Regions from separate parts of the Homo sapiens genome. Here region 1 is linked to region 2. Evidence: promoter capture Hi-C in human tissues and cell types (Jung and others, 2019). All regions are on one chromosome and are shown on one strand. Each heading gives the region's core, a stretch centred on a gene start or on the middle of the fragment in contact. The rest is flanking DNA. Distances are from core to core; before and after follow the strand shown. Region 1 overlaps B4GALNT3 (beta-1,4-N-acetyl-galactosaminyltransferase 3). Region 2 holds the start of NINJ2 (ninjurin 2).

Region 1 (6,966 bases), core at 4,423-6,922, 99 kb before region 2:
ATCATCTTCCTCTGTGACCTCCACATCCACTTCCCAGCTGGAGTCATCGATGCCATTCGGAAGCACTGTGTGGAGGGAAAGATGGCCTTTGCCCCCATGGTGATGAGGCTGCATTGTGGGGCCACCCCCCAGTGGCCTGAGGGTGAGCCCTGCTCAGACTGGGGAGGGAGGAAAGACTTCTCTGATCTTGGCTCTTAACTCCAGAGCTGGGAACAGTCATATCTATGAGCGTCAGCATCCTCCTCCCCTGCCCCACCCTGCCCTCCTGTGGCCTTCACTCCCCGGAAAACTCACCAGACAAGGTCCCCTTGGGCTGAGCTGACAGCCACAGCAGCAGGTGCAGCAGTGCACACCTCCTGCGCCGTCTTCTCCTTGATTCATTCATCACACACTTACTAAGCACTGCTGTGTGCCAGATGCTCTGCCCTGTGGGGATTCAAAGATGGGAAAGGTAGCCTCCCTGCCTGTGGAAAGGGAAACGGACATGTAAACTGACACACAGCTGTGTCTTCTGTGGCTGCCGCTGTCCGATCCATTTGTAGGGTTGTTATCAGCCCATGGGCACAGCCTGGTAGCACTGCTGAGCCCTGAACCTTAGTTAGGGGTCTTTCCTCCAAAACAGGCAAAGTACTTGTTCAGCTAAGACAGTTTTCAGCCTCCCTCAACCCCAGCCTCTGACTTTCAGAAGAGCCTCTAGGCACACAGCCTGGAAGCCTCCTTCCTTCCTCCTCCTGGCCTCTGGCTCATCTCACCCGAAGCTCCTGTCTGTCCACAGGCTACTGGGAGGTGAATGGGTTCGGGCTGCTTGGCATCTACAAGTCTGACCTGGACAGGATTGGGGGCATGAACACCAAGGAGTTCCGAGACCGCTGGGGCGGGGAAGACTGGGAGCTGCTGGACAGGTGACTGGGAAGAGGAGGGCATCCACGAGGCCTGGGAATTCCATGGCGCTCCAGGCAGGGAGCCAGGCTACAGCAGCCTAGCTGTCCCCCTCGGCCGCAGAGTCCCAAAGCACAGTAAAGAGCACTGGACTCGGAGGACGCCCTCAAATCACCGGCCTCGCTGGGACTCAGTTTCTCTATTAGAGGGGTGTGACTCGCCCTCTGTCTGTGTCACAGGGTTGGTGTGAAAATTAACATGCCTGGTACACCGTGTACCAGGTACACCAAGCTGTGTAGACATAAACCATGATGTTCTCAGCACCAAGCAGGGCACCGTGGGAGAGACTGCATCCTCCCCAGCCCGAGGGTAGTGCGCCTCCCGTCAGCTGCCGAGCGGGGAGCCCAGAGTTGTGGGAATGGATAAGTAGACCTGGCAAAGGTCAGGAAAGACTTTGGGGCCAGCAGAAGAGACAGTGTAGACCACTGAAGGGCAAGAGGACATCCAGGAGGTGCCGGGTCATGAGACACCAAGGGACCTGGGGGTTTGGAGCAGGAGGAAAGGGTCAATGAGATGAAAAGCCTCAGAGAAGAACACAGTACAAGCTGCTGCCTTGGCAGGTGGACAAGGAGAGCAAGATTGGGCAGGGACACCAGGCCATGGGTGGTGAGGAGGCGGAGGCTGTTCCGTGTGAGGTTCCTCTTTCAAGAAATGTGCTGCCAAGAGAAGGGGCAGAGAGAGGATGGTGCCTTGAGATCTGAGCCTATGGTGAGGGAGCAAAGGAGAGGGGAGGGTACCCTTCAGAAGGGCATAAGCGCTGTAACAGCGTCCACAGGAGGTGGACAGGGCAAGGTCAGGAGCACTGGGGGCGGGACCTCGACACGAAGACACGCTCACTTCTTCCCGAGAGGCAGGACAAAATGCATCCACCAGTCACTGGGTCCCTATACATGGCCGGCCATCCACATCCGTTACCTCGTTTATTTCTCCCCAGACCTCAGTGAGGTCGGCATCATGATCTCCATTTTCCAGATGAGAAGACTGAGTCTTGAAGAGAAGTTAATAACTTGCCCCAAATCTCACTCACTTAAGCGTTAGAGGCTTGAAAACTAGGTCTATTGGTGTTTTTTCCCGTTGAGGGAAGAAAGAAAAGGAAGGTGACACACTAAGAGAATTCGAGTGAAAAGGGGGAAGGTAAAGGAACGTAGATAACTGGGAGCTCATAAAAAGGGTCTGAGATCAAAGGAGCCCCCAGGGCAGCTGGAAGCCTTGATTTGGGAAGCCGGGTCCAGCAGTCACCTCCACCTTGATCTCTGTGCTGGGCTTTTGCTGCCATGCACGGCTCCTGTACAGCCCTGAACCTCCTGCCTCCTCGGAGGCTCAGGCATCCAGTTCGGCCACTCTCAGCCCTGCCAGAAGTGCAGCCTCCCTGTGAGAGGGACACCCTGCAGGCTGCACATGCACAAAAGGCCTGGGGAGGGCCTAGGCGCCAGGTGTCTCAGTGCAGCAGCCCTGCCTTCCTCCGTCTATGACGTGTGCCCTGGAGGCTGGGCGCCAGTTATGGGGCACTCAGAGTGTGCCAGGAGCCGTGCTGAGCCCTCAGCATCCATCCTTCTCGTCTTCCCCACCTCTGATGTGTATATAGTATGTCTACTCTAATATTAGATAGATAGAATTCTATATCACACATTATCCTCTCATTACACGTATGTGATAATCGTCCTCCTAGAGATGAGCAGACAGGCTCTGAAAGAAGGCGTGACATACCCAGTCATGCAGCTGGGATCCAAACCCAGGCTGCCTGGCTTCAAAGCCCACAGCCGTCCACTGCACCTGCCTTCCCTGCCCCGTGGGGAGCGAACAGAGGGTCTGTGGTCGATGGGGAGGGGCCCCCCAGCTGCCTTCTGTGCTTCTGTTGGCTCATCTGTGTTTCTCCTCCTCCAGGATACTCCAAGCGGGCCTGGACGTGGAGCGTCTCTCCCTCAGGAATTTCTTCCATCATTTCCATTCCAAGCGAGGCATGTGGAGCCGTCGCCAGATGAAGACGCTGTAGCCGGAGGGTGTCCGCGGGGCCCAGCACTCCCCGCTCTGGACTAGCAGTGGCTCCCCAGGGCCCTGCTACTGTTCAGGGATGGGGAGTGGGGTGACGGCTGGACCCCAAGAGGCCTCGAAGCTGACGGCCCACTCCACCTGGAGCTGTCCCCTCACAGAGGCAGGTTCCGGGGCTCCTGTCTCTGCCTCCTGGGCCTTCAGAAGGGAGGACTTTGAGAGAGAGGCCAGGAGGGACCACTTGCTCAGTCGAGAACGGGAAGAGCTCCTGAGAAGGACGGGTCAGGAAGGAGAGATCTGACTGAGCGACACCATCCTCATCCATGAAGGTGCACGCCCACATCCCCCAAGCGCTCCTCACGCCAAGCGCTGACCACCAGACCCTCTTCTAGTGGACATATTTTATTGGGGGGCGGGGATTTTAAAAACAGAAAACCGAAACTGCTGTCCAGAGCGGGGGTGAGGTTGTGCACTGAGGGACTGTCCCCACGTGCAGGCCTCCCGCCCACTCCTATGTCCCTTGGGCGTTGTCCCTGGCCGCGGGACTGGTCCCACGTGGGGCAGGTCTCTGCTCCACCCCAGGCTCGTGCCTTCCAGAGACACACATCTCCCAGTAGCCACCAAACAGCTGGCCACTGATTAGGGCATTAACTTCCTCCGGATGGCTCACGTCAGACCAGAAGCACAGAACGGGCTGTTTCTGGTGCTTGGGCATTGGGAGGTGGGGAGCTGGCGGGCAGGGGGCTTGCCACTCCCTGGCACTGGACATTGAGGCCTGCAGAACAGGCAGGGTGATGAAGGCAGGGGAGAGAAGCCCTTTCCCTTACCGGCGTGCCTGTGGGTAAGGCCTCCCGAGAGGACATGGAGAAGAGGTAAAGAGGATGTGGACATATCTGTCAATTTCCTTAGGCAAGAAGCGGGTGGGGGCTGGACAGAAAGGGACGAAAAGGGAAGTGGAAGCTGTGAGCCTCACAGTCCAGCTCCACTGCAGACCTGCCCTTCTGCAGGGAGAGCCCTGGCCACCCGGCCTTGAGTGGAAGAAGAGGAAAGGGTGTACGGGGGCAAAACCCTGGACAGGGAGCAGGATAAGAAGGGGGCGGGATGAGAGGTTTGGGGAGGTGAGGACATTGCCCTGAGATATCCCCTGGAGGCAGGGAGAGGAGTGGGGGCAGGAGGAACTGAAGAGGGGGGCAGTTTCAGGGAAAATAGCCCTTAGCCTTTTTAGTCGATGCCACCCTTTCTGTCACCTGGAGACCTTGTACTTCTCTTGCACTAATAACCCCGGTGCTTTTGTGGCTGGGGGTTTTTCTGTTGCTGCTGCTGCCTCCACCACTGCTGTGAATTCACCCATGGTGCATTGGACACTGGATCTTGAACTCCAGAGTCTGTTTAGGGAGGTGAGCACAGGGCTGGGGGAGGTGCGGCGGGGCCCAGAAGACCAGGCCACTGAGCCCGCGCTCCAGGCTGTGACGGTCCAAACCACGGCACTGGAGCTGCAGGGTCTGCCTAGTGGGCTCTGCATTCCCCGAGAGCACGAGTTTGGCACATGGGAGAATGGAGCCCGTGGAGAACCTTCTGGGGGGTCGGGGAGAATCCCTGCCTCCCTTTAAGGAATCATGAAGGACAGAGACTTTTGAGATTGTGGCTTAGGAAGGCCATACCTGCTCCCTGGGCTGTGGCTTTTTCTGGTCCCTGCTGAGGCCGACTGGCCCCTGGAGAAGGATGGTGGGGCATAGGCTAGGGCTGCAGTTGGCCAGTGGGGCTGCCAGTTTCTTTCTGGGACCACTCTCGTCCTCGGGCATTGCACTGGAAGGCTGGAACCAGCCCAAACTGCCCACCTGCTTCACTTCCAATGACTAGGAGCCAGCCCAGCCTCCTGCCCTGCCCACACCCCTGCGCCCTGGGCCAGTGCCTTGCGTTTGATGTTACCTCCACACCATCTGCCTTAAGAGGAAGGGCCGGGCAAGGCCCCTACTCCCTAGAGAAATGTCTTGGGTAGGAGAGGGTGTGGGATGGTGGGAGGGGAAGCATTAAATACAGCAACTTCTTAGAAAAAAAAAAAGGTGCTTGTCTTTTCCTGTTGCTCTTCACGGATGTAAAGGATTGGGCTGAGGGGCCCAGGTGGGCGTGCCAAGGACCCTCCCACACCACCCTCCACCCTTACCACAAGTGTGATGCCTGCTGTGTGTGAGATGGCCTTCTCTGCACTGCGGTTTACTCAGGAAGAAGACAACATTGTTCCTGTCTGAGCAGCTCACCGTGTAATAGACTAGGCATTTTCTGTTCAGCAGATTAATGGAGGTTGGTGGTTTTAGCCGAGGAAAGCTATGGATACGCTGGGTGGAGAAGGCTAGATATAGGGCCAGAACGGTTTGGTGAGCAGTGGAGAGAAGCCAACGAGTGGCTGCTTCTAAACTGGCAGACCTTCTAAAAATCATTTCTGTTTCTGAGTTGGCAATGCTTTGCTAATGCTTTACAGATTTACCTTCCTCGTTATATTTGGCCCAGGCAAAGATCAAAATGAGTTTGCAGTCCTTAAACACATGCCTAAGGGAAGCTGAGACTGAAAGCCAGAATAGCTTACAGCAGGTTCGTGGAGAAGATTGTGCATATGTGCATCCACCTGCAATGGACTAATCTACAGTTCATGGGGCAGATGACGATAAGCGCAAGACATCTGGGCCAGGAACATTGGCTCCGAGCAGAACCCACAGAGGAGGAAGTAATTTAAAAGCCTTCCCACCCTCCAGGTCTGGGGTTTGCTCTCTTGAGCCCTCTCCAAGGCACAGATGGAGACCAGCCTGGATGCCTGAGCCTGCAGGACTAGACAAGTAAGTGGACTCAAGAGTGGATTTGAAGAAACCTTTATAGATATAGATTCCATTTTACAAGAAGGGAAAATTGAGGCCTGGAGCAGAAGGAAGCAGTGGGGTAGAGTCAGAACCAGCATCCTTAAGCCGGGCAGACTTGGCCTTAGACAGACATGCCTTACTTAGGTCCAGCAGATGCTACCAGGAAGGTATGGCTGGCAGTACCTGCGTCTGAGCTCAGGACTTCAGACCAAGATGGAAGTCCCTTAGACCAATAACATAAAAATCACTTTTTAACTCAGGTGCTGTGGGTAGGGAGCAAGGGCAGCTATACTGTCCTTTCAGAAGCTCTCCTGGGCTGTGGAAAGTGCCCACGAGCCTGGCAGATCACGGAGGAAGGAGGCAGAAGTTCCAGGCCCAGAACCTGTTGAGGAAGCAGAGAAGAGGCAATGAGGATGGCAGGCCAGATCAATGCCCCTCAACCTTCAGCATGCCCAGGATGCACCTGGCCACGTTACTCATGCACGTGCCTGTAGCACGTGCTCGAGCAGAGCCTGAGATTCTGCATTTCCAGCAAGTTCCTGGGTGGTTTGTGGATGCTGCTGACCCATGGACCACAGTCAGTAGCAAGAGCTGCTAGACAATGGCAGGGAGAAATTCCCCATCTCCACCTTTCCTCTTGCCGGAGGGGCAGAGTCAACCACTAATGGCATCGCCTCCACCCTGTCCCAGACCGTGGGAAAACCTGAGCCTGAGAGCAGAGAGCCATTAACACAGCAGTGGGGCTTTGTGCAAGCCTCGCTGAGGCCAGGCTCTTGCAGATCCTCTCCTTGCTCTCGGAGCTACAGGCCTTCCCCCTTTGTTTGGCAAGGGATCTGTTTCTTGCCCCAAAGCCCCAGAGGAGAGAGAAGGGCCACCTGGGGAGTCCCTGGAGCTGGGGTTCCTCCATCCTCCCTCACCTGGGTCCCAGGCTGCATTCAGAGAGGATTCCTTGAGGCCCTGGCAGCCAGGAACCCTGTTTTATGTGCCCCGAAGGCTGTAATGAAAACATTGATGACCACAGTGAAGAAGACCAAGATGGTGGCTGCGTTGTTGAGCTGGTTGAGTCGCCACTGCTTTTCTACCTCATTCAGGTTCAGCCGTGCTGCAGGGAAGTGGAGTGGGGGGAAAGGGTCAGAGACGGGGCCACAGCACGGAGCTGCCCCCACAACACCCACCAGAGTTTGGA
Region 2 (7,938 bases), core at 1,705-4,204:
CCACCACGCCTAGCTAATTTTTGTATTTTTAGTAGAGACAGGGTTTCACTATGTTGGCCAGGATGGTCTGCAACCCCTGACCTCGTGATCCGCCCACCTCAGACTCCCAAAGTGCTGGGGTTACAGGCGTGAGCCACCTAGCCCGGCCCTGTTATGCTCTTTCTAATGAATACTGAAACTATAAAGATGGCCAGCTATGGTGGCTCACACCTGTAATCCCAGCACTTTGGGAGGCCGAGGCTTGTGGATCATTTGAGGTCAGGAGTGCAAGACTAGCCTGGCCAATATGATGAAACCCTGTCTCTACTAAAAATATGAAAATTAGCCAAGTGTGGTGGTACATGCCTATAATCCCAGCTACTTGGGAAGCTGAGGCAGGAGAATCACTTGAACCCAGGAGGCGGAGGTTGCAGTGAGCTGAGATTTTGCCACTACACTCCACCCTAGGCGACAGAGTGAGACTCCATCTCAAAAAAAACTGTAAAAATAAACATTATAATAAAAAGCTGTCAGCCATTGATGTACCTTTACCACCCATTGGTGATAATTGTACCACATTTTGGGGAAACATTGTTTTAACTAAAGAGTGTTATTGTTTTGTTTTTAGAGATAGGGTCTGGCTCTGCCGCCCAGGCTGGAGTGCAATGGCATGATTGTAGCTCACTGCAACCTTGAACTCCTGGCTTCAAACAATCCTCCCACCTCAGCCTCCCGAGTAGTGGGGACTACAGGTGCATGCCACCATGCCTAGCTAATTACTTTTAAATTTTTAATAGAGATAGGGTCTTGCTATGTTGCCCAGGCTGATCTCTAGCTCTTGAGCTCAAGTGATCCTCCTGCCTCAGCCTCCAAAATGCTAGGATTACAGGCGTAGGCCACCGTGCCCAGCCAAAGGTGGACAATAAATTGTAGAAAATAATGGATAACCTTCTGAGCAAAGGAAAATGTAAGATACAAGAATTAAATAGCATATTAGAAGAGAGTGAATGACAAATGAAGAGAAAGGTACACTAACACCTCAGTTACCTGCTAGAGAGAGACATTCATCCAGCCTAGCCAGTCATTTCCTTCTCCTTCCTCCCACCACCTCTTTCCTTCTGAACCTCTGGTTCAGATGCAGAGTCCTTAGCCTGTAACTCTGGATCGTTCAACCCATCAGCACATAAGAAACTTGCTCTTCTGAGAATGAAAATAAGCAGCAACACAATTTCCTTAACAACCAAGGATCTTATAGAGGCAAGAACTAGAAGTAAGAAGAAAACACATACTAGGGACAGAAGACATGGACTGGAGGTCTTGGGCCAATTAGGTGACCTTATTCCTATCTCAGAGCCTCTCCAACTCATGGCTTCCTCAACTCATTCATTTAACAAATGTTTTCTAAAGCAATGACCGTGTACCAAGAGTTGCCTCATGCACTCGGGCTGCAGCAGTGAATAAAACAGGAGAGGCCCTGCCCTCAGAGATCTTGTGTCCTAGTGAGAGTGACAGGCAATACATACTAAATAAATAAGCAGTGTAACTTTAGGTGGTGAGCAGTGCTATGAAAGAAATTAAACAAATGATAAAGACAAATTGGGGAGGAGGCATCCTGTGAAGAGGTTGGTCAGGGGAGGGCTCCTGGGGGAAGTAACATTTGAGCTGAGACCTGAATGTACTAGGAAGGGCCAGCCAGGAGATAAGCCAGGGAAAGAAGGTTCCAGACAGAGGGACAAGCAAGCCTTGCGGTGGGACCGCTCTCGGGGCTGGCTGCCAATCCAGGAAAACAGCACTGGGTATGCAGTTGTACTAGGTGAATGGTTTTGACACAGCACACCAAGCAGTCCTACAGTTCCCTGGTGGTGTCTCAAGGGCGGAGGGGCCAAGGACAGAGACTCTGCCAGACTCACGCCACCCTGCCCAAAACACACACAGAGAACGAGAGAGAGAGAGAGAGAGAGAGACGCGTGCACATACTCTGCTTCAACAAAACAGCTCTTCTTTAATCCGAAGTGTATATTGGGTGGCTGCTTAAGATTTTGTTCGAGGACCAGGTTCAGGGATCAGAAATTCTTGATCTCAAAAGTCCTTTTCCACACTTTGTTTGATTCTCTGCAATGTTACACAGCCTCAGCAGTGGTCATAGAAGGGTTCGTTCTATTCTATCCATTGGCAAGGAGTCACAGAGTGCAGCTCCCAGCAATCTGGCTCTCCTCTCACCGTAACATCCCACCCTTTCCCCTCCAGCAGTGGACTGGAACCTCTGATGCCTTCCAAGCCCATCCCAGCTACAGAGGGACACACATCTCTGCCTCTTCCTAGGAGATTAGACTGATTTCCTTTCCTTGCACTGTCCAAATGAGACGCTTTCTGTCCTACACAGTAGAGCTTTGTGAAGACAGCCGAGAAACGGCTCAAGTTTTTTCCAACCTGTAAAATGCAAAGTTGGCCAGCTGCCTCTCTTCCTAGCCTCAAAACTCATATATTTCCTGTCTCCCCGGCAGCTCTAAGAGAAGTCTCTACTGTCCTGGGGTTTGGGGAAAGCACTGCTCAGAATGTGAAATCATTTTCTGGTAATACGGATCTAATTAGCTCTTTGACTGACAAGAGGAAGCAGAGGCCAAAAGGGAGTTAACCAATCTGTTTTTCAGATATTTCAAAACAAGTGAAGAACCAGATAGGGAAACAGAGAGAAAGAGAAAATAAAGAGACAAAGCCTAGGGAGCATTTGGAGAAGGGAGTGAGTAAGAAGAGAACGGGGAGGGAGAATATCAAGTGACTAAAGTATCAATCCTCTGTTCTTCCAGCTTCACCTCTACTCCCGGTCTCCCCTCTGCTCTCTTCCAGAGAGAACTTACTTGAAGGTCGATGTTTTCTCTTGCTGATTCCATCTCGCTGCCCTCAAGTCCCTTCACACGCACCGGGTGCCGGGAACAGACTGCGTGGGCTCCTCCAGGCTCCGCCGTCTGAGTCTCTGCTGCTTTCTTCGGGTGGGAGAGAGCACACAGCTGGCGGGACAGACCTGCCATTCATCCCTCTGATGTGGGATGCCCGTCTTGGCTGCAGCCTCTGGGGGAGGTGTGCACCTGCACACACGTGTGAGTGTATGTGTGTGCACATGTGTGTGCTCCAGGAGGTGGCACATGGCACACTGATAGGTGACCTTTTGAGTTGGTAGTGACAGCATCATTTTCACCAGTGGCTCCAGTGACCTTCCAGTCCCAGCGGAGCCATCTGAGGTCACCCAGCCTGCTTTGAGCTAGTAGCTTTATGACTGGCAAAGAAATCCTGCATGTTTATCAAGCAAATTGAAAAACAGCCTGAGGACAACGCTATCTGACTTCACCGCTGGGTCCAGTCCCCAGTCGCCACGGGTGGAGTGACCTCCAGCACAGTCTCAATACTGAGGCAGAGGGATTTCCGTTGTTCTTTGCTTTGTTCCCTATATCCCTAAAAGTTTTTAAAAAAATTGTAGTTTACCTAATAGGCTCCAAAGCATAGGCTTTGTTCTGCAAAGTGAGTGAACAATACGTTTTTACTGACGGATTGTTTGATTCCTTCAACTCCTCCCTTGATTAGCCATAGAGGGAGCAGGGAGTAGTTGTACCTTCGAAGCTTGTTTATGCAAACAGTGGTATTCTCCCTACTTTTAAAATAAAATTACCAGGAGGGAGTCTTTTTTTAGAAAGTTTTTTTTTTCCTCTCCTGTTTACCTTAGAGCCCAAAACTCTTCTGGCTTGTTCCTGAAGCAAGGTTTAGACACAAGCTTGTGCAGGTGTGGGTGTGGGTATGTCTGTAGACGTGCATGGCAGGGTGTTAACCTGTAATCCAATTCAGGGCTTGAAGAGGTGCGGGCAGGAGGAAGACAGGCAGAGTCAACACGTTTACCCTCACCACATTCAAATGTAAAAAAAAAAAAAGGCGATTTCTTCAGTTCTATGAAATGCCTTTATAAGTTCCCATCCCTCTGGACAGTGGTGCGAGGGAGGGTTGGATGATTGGATGGGGGCCATATTTTAGTCTAATCTATGAAGCATAGTTGGATTTAATCATTTAAATGGTAAACAGTCCACTTTAGACACAATGCTCAGTCTTTCGGATTTGCAGAAGATGGCACCTAGGTGCACAGGAGGGCGGGGTGGGGACGGTTCTTGCATCTATCCTGTGGCCTCTCCATCTCGGCTCCTTTCTGTTCTGGAGCTGCTGGGCCCACGGGCCCGCCCGAATTGCTGACTGCTGAGGAGACACAGGTCCTGCTCCTGGGTCTTCTGCTGGCCTTGGTGGCTGATGTCTGATATTAGGCCAGAGTCACTCATGGGTGATTCTCTTTCTGCCTTTGAGATCCAGTGTTCTCCCTTGCTGTCTGCGCTACCTTGGCTCGTGGCAATGTGGACCATCCTGAGACCTGGCTTTGACTTGTATGTGCCCCCATCCCACTGTATCCGCTCAGTGGCCCACATCTCTAAGATAAGCCCCTCGAAATTTTCCTGTGAGATGCTTGACCAGTGCTCCTGAGCCCCCTTAGGCACATGGGGACTGAGGGCTGCTGACGAAGGGCAGGGGAAAGGCAAGCTCAGCCCCACTTCCAGCAGAGTTTGCTCTGATGTGGCTGCTCCAACTGACACAGGGCAGTCTGCGAGGTGATCTCCTTCCACATTCCTGAATGGAAATGAGACCTGGAACCCACTCTTCTCAGCACTCCTTAAAAAGTCTACCAGTAATATCTATCACCCCACCGCTCATAATAATACCACTATGTATCAAGCACTATTCTAAGCACTTTTTTTTTTTTGAGATGGAGTCTCGCTCTGTTGCACAAGCTGGAGTGCAGTGGCGCCATCTCGGCTCACTGCAACTTCTGCCTCCTGGGTTCAAACGATTCTCCTGCCTCAGCCTCCCGAGTAGCTGAGATTACTTCTTCCCATAGTCCCCTTAATCTAGAATCAGAAAATGTACGCTTTGTCTTCTTTTTTTTTTTTTTTTTCCTGTTTGGCTGGGATGTATCTGATGTAGAACTCTATGACAACAATTCAAAGGGAAATGAAGAAATTTAGAAAATCCTCTCTCTCAAGAAAACCTGGTTGTCAAAAATATTGTCTTGGCTGGGCAGCATGGCTCATACCTGTGATCCCAGCACTTCGGGAGGCCAAAGCCGGAGGATCTCTTGAGCCCAGGAGTTCAAGACCAGCTTGAGCAACATAGTGAGATCCCATCTGTAGAAGAACTTTTTGGCTGGACATGGTGGCTCACACCTGTAATCCCAGCATTGTGGGAAGTAGAGGCAGGAGGTCACTTGAGCCCAGGGGTTCAAGACCAGCCTGGGAAACACAGTGAGATCCTGTCTCTACAAAAAAAAAATTTTTTTTTAATTTAGCTAGATGTGGCAGCTTGCAGCACCTGTAGTCCCAGGTACTTGGGAGGCTGAGGTGGGAGGATTGCTTGAGCCTGGGAGCTGAAGGCTGCAGTGAGCTATGATCATGACACTGTACTCCAGCCTGAGTTGACAAAGCAAGACCATGTCTTAAAAAAAAAAAAAAACTTTCTGGAAAACCTTATTTCGGATGCCAGAAGCAAAATATTAACTATTTATTTCTCTTTGCACTCCTGTTGTGAAAATCCTCATTATCTTTTAAATAATATGGATACATCTGGCTGAATAGAGGGAAACAGGAACAAAAAAATGCAAAAGAGAAAAGTACTCGAATATATTTCAAAAAATTTCCTATTAATAAGCACATTGGTTTGAAAAGGAAACAGCTGTAATTGGTTATAATAATGGTTTTGGTTTGGCAAGATCTTTCTGGATTTGGACCTTTCCCCATCTCATAAGCATCATTTGGAAGTAAACAGAAAAAAGGCTTTGGAAAATGGTTTATCTACCATATCACGCTGTAACCCTGGACCAGGGGTCAGCAAAGTTTTTCTTTTTCATTTTTCCCTTTTATAAAATTCAAATTGCTATATGAAGCTTTTTTAATTTTAATTTTAATTTTTTGAGACGGGGTCTCACTCTGTCACCCAGGCTGGTGTGCAGTGGCACAGTCTCTGCTCACTGCAATCTCTGCCTCCTGGGCTTAAGTGATCCTCCCACCTCAGGCCCCAACCCCCAGCCCAGTAGCTGGGATTACAGGCGCGTGCCACCATGCCTGGCTAATTTCTGTATTTTTTGTAGAGACGGGGGTTTCGCCATGTTGCCCAGGCTGGCCTCAAACTCCTGAGCTCAAGCGATCCGCTCACCTCGATCTCTCAAAGTGCTGGAATTACAGGCGTGGGTCACCATGCCCAGCCAGTAAACTTTTTCTGTAAGGGGCCAGAGAGCCAATATTTTTTAGCCTTTGTGTGTCATATGGTTTCTGCTGCGATGACTCACTTCTATAATAATGTGAAAGCAGTCATAGACAACATGTAAATGAACGAGTGTGGGAGTGTTCCAATAAAACTTTATTTACAAAAAGAGTCAGATATTCATAAAAACAGACCGGAGTTGGCTCCACAGGCTATAGTCTGCTGACCCCTGCTCTAGGATTTAATCAGAGTCTTTGAAGTCTAATTCCCACTTGAGAGGCAACTACTGAGTCTCTACCACGTGGATATTGGGTTAAACACTGCGGGGATATAAAAGCACCACATGCACGCCCTGGTGAGACAACTGATGGCAAGGGAAGCTGTAGTGAAGAGTGTTGCTGCCATTTGGCTGGTGCTGAAACTGCACCTACGTGGAGGTTATCACTGTGGGTGGAAATGGTTTCTATTGTTCTTTACTGCTAGGGTGATTTTTGTGGTGTAAAGCCAGAGGGACATTTTTAGGGAGACTGTCTCTTGGAAAGCATATTTTGGAATATCCTTGAACTTACAGATAAGTAGACACTCAGAGTGACTCAGAAACTACTCTGAGTCTAGTTTCATGGAATGAGGGGTCTACAATGAGACCCTAGGTATCTTGCTATGTAGAAGGAGCAAAGCATTGTTGTAGGGTACTGAAGAAGGCAACAGCAAGAAGATCCTTTAATTTTGAATTGTGGGAAAAGCTCTAGGGTGAAAGCCAGGTGGCCTGGATTCCTCTCTGTGTGCTGAGTCACTGTGTTTTTAGGCAAGTCACTTAACTTCTCTGGGGCTTACATTCTTGTTTGTGAATGTGAAGCTATCAAAAGAGTTGATTCCTAAGATCCCTCTAGCTCTTAAATTCTGTTTCTAATGTGTGTTTTGGCCAGGTGTCGTGGCTCACACCTGTAATCCAGCACCGAGGTAGGCAGATCACCTGAGGTCAGGAGTTTGAGACCAGCCTGGACAACATGGTGTAACCCCTCTCTACTAAAAATACAAAAATTAGCTGGGCCTGGTGGTGCATGCCGGTAATCCCAGCTATTTGGGAGGCTGAGGCACAAAAGAATGGCGTGAACCCAGGAGGTGGAGGTTGCAATGAGCCGAGACCACAACACTGCGCTCCAGCCTGGGTGACAGAGTGAGACTCTGTCTCAAAAAAAAAAAAAAAAAAAAAAAGTTTATATTAAATACTTCCTGTGTAACAATATAAAATCTCAGATACAGGTCTGAATTTCAGTGTGTAAAAGTTGAGGGCTAGAAATTATTGGCTTTTTAAAAAATTGAAGCAGAGCAAGAAGAATCTAATGCTTTTAGTTTAATTTTACCAATAAGACCTTCCCTGATGGAAAATTTATGTAATTAGAAAAATTTTAGGGAAAATTACCACTGTCTGTTGCCCCTGCTCATGGAGACTGAGTAGGGCATACCCACGTCAAACAAGATACAGAAGTGAGAATAAAAGCTGACTTCAAAACATTCTTACAAACTTGCTTATGCCCATTTACACATGAACTCAGCTGCTTTCAAATTCACTTCTCCAGGAATCCCAGGGCCAACAGGGATGGCAAAGGGAAGCTTTCTGAGGGCCTATGGAGGGAGCTGGTAGTGCAGTAAATGTTATTGAACATTTCCATC

Evidence for each region. The method cuts DNA at HindIII sites, captures the fragments that hold promoters and counts their contacts. A contact is called where the count stands out against the background at its distance.
Region 1: a contact is called between a fragment that was not itself captured here and the fragment with the promoter of NINJ2 in region 2, in 2 of the 25 tissues and cell types used here (spleen and thymus).

What each region holds. Positions count from the first base shown.
Region 1 is chr12:558,520-565,485 of GRCh38, forward strand. It overlaps B4GALNT3 (beta-1,4-N-acetyl-galactosaminyltransferase 3), which reads left to right. Exons shown (of 20, transcript NM_173593.4): 18 at 1-142; 19 at 776-902; 20 at 2,824-4,990. The coding sequence ends at 2,932. It overlaps NINJ2 (ninjurin 2), which reads right to left. Exons shown (of 4, transcript NM_016533.6): 3 at 6,698-6,882; 4 at 5,777-6,162. The coding sequence ends at 6,716. Among named protein-coding and RNA genes, the nearest start is that of NINJ2-AS1, 69 kb to the right of the region's middle. RefSeq lists enhancers at 4,230-4,731, 6,896-6,966. The HindIII fragment of the contact is 5,955 bases long and covers 2,696-6,966 here.
Region 2 is chr12:660,491-668,428 of GRCh38, forward strand. It overlaps NINJ2 (ninjurin 2), which reads right to left and starts at 2,955. Exons shown (of 4, transcript NM_016533.6): 1 at 2,838-2,955. The coding sequence starts at 2,870. RefSeq lists an enhancer at 6,153-6,652. The HindIII fragment of the contact is 21,671 bases long and covers 1-4,846 here.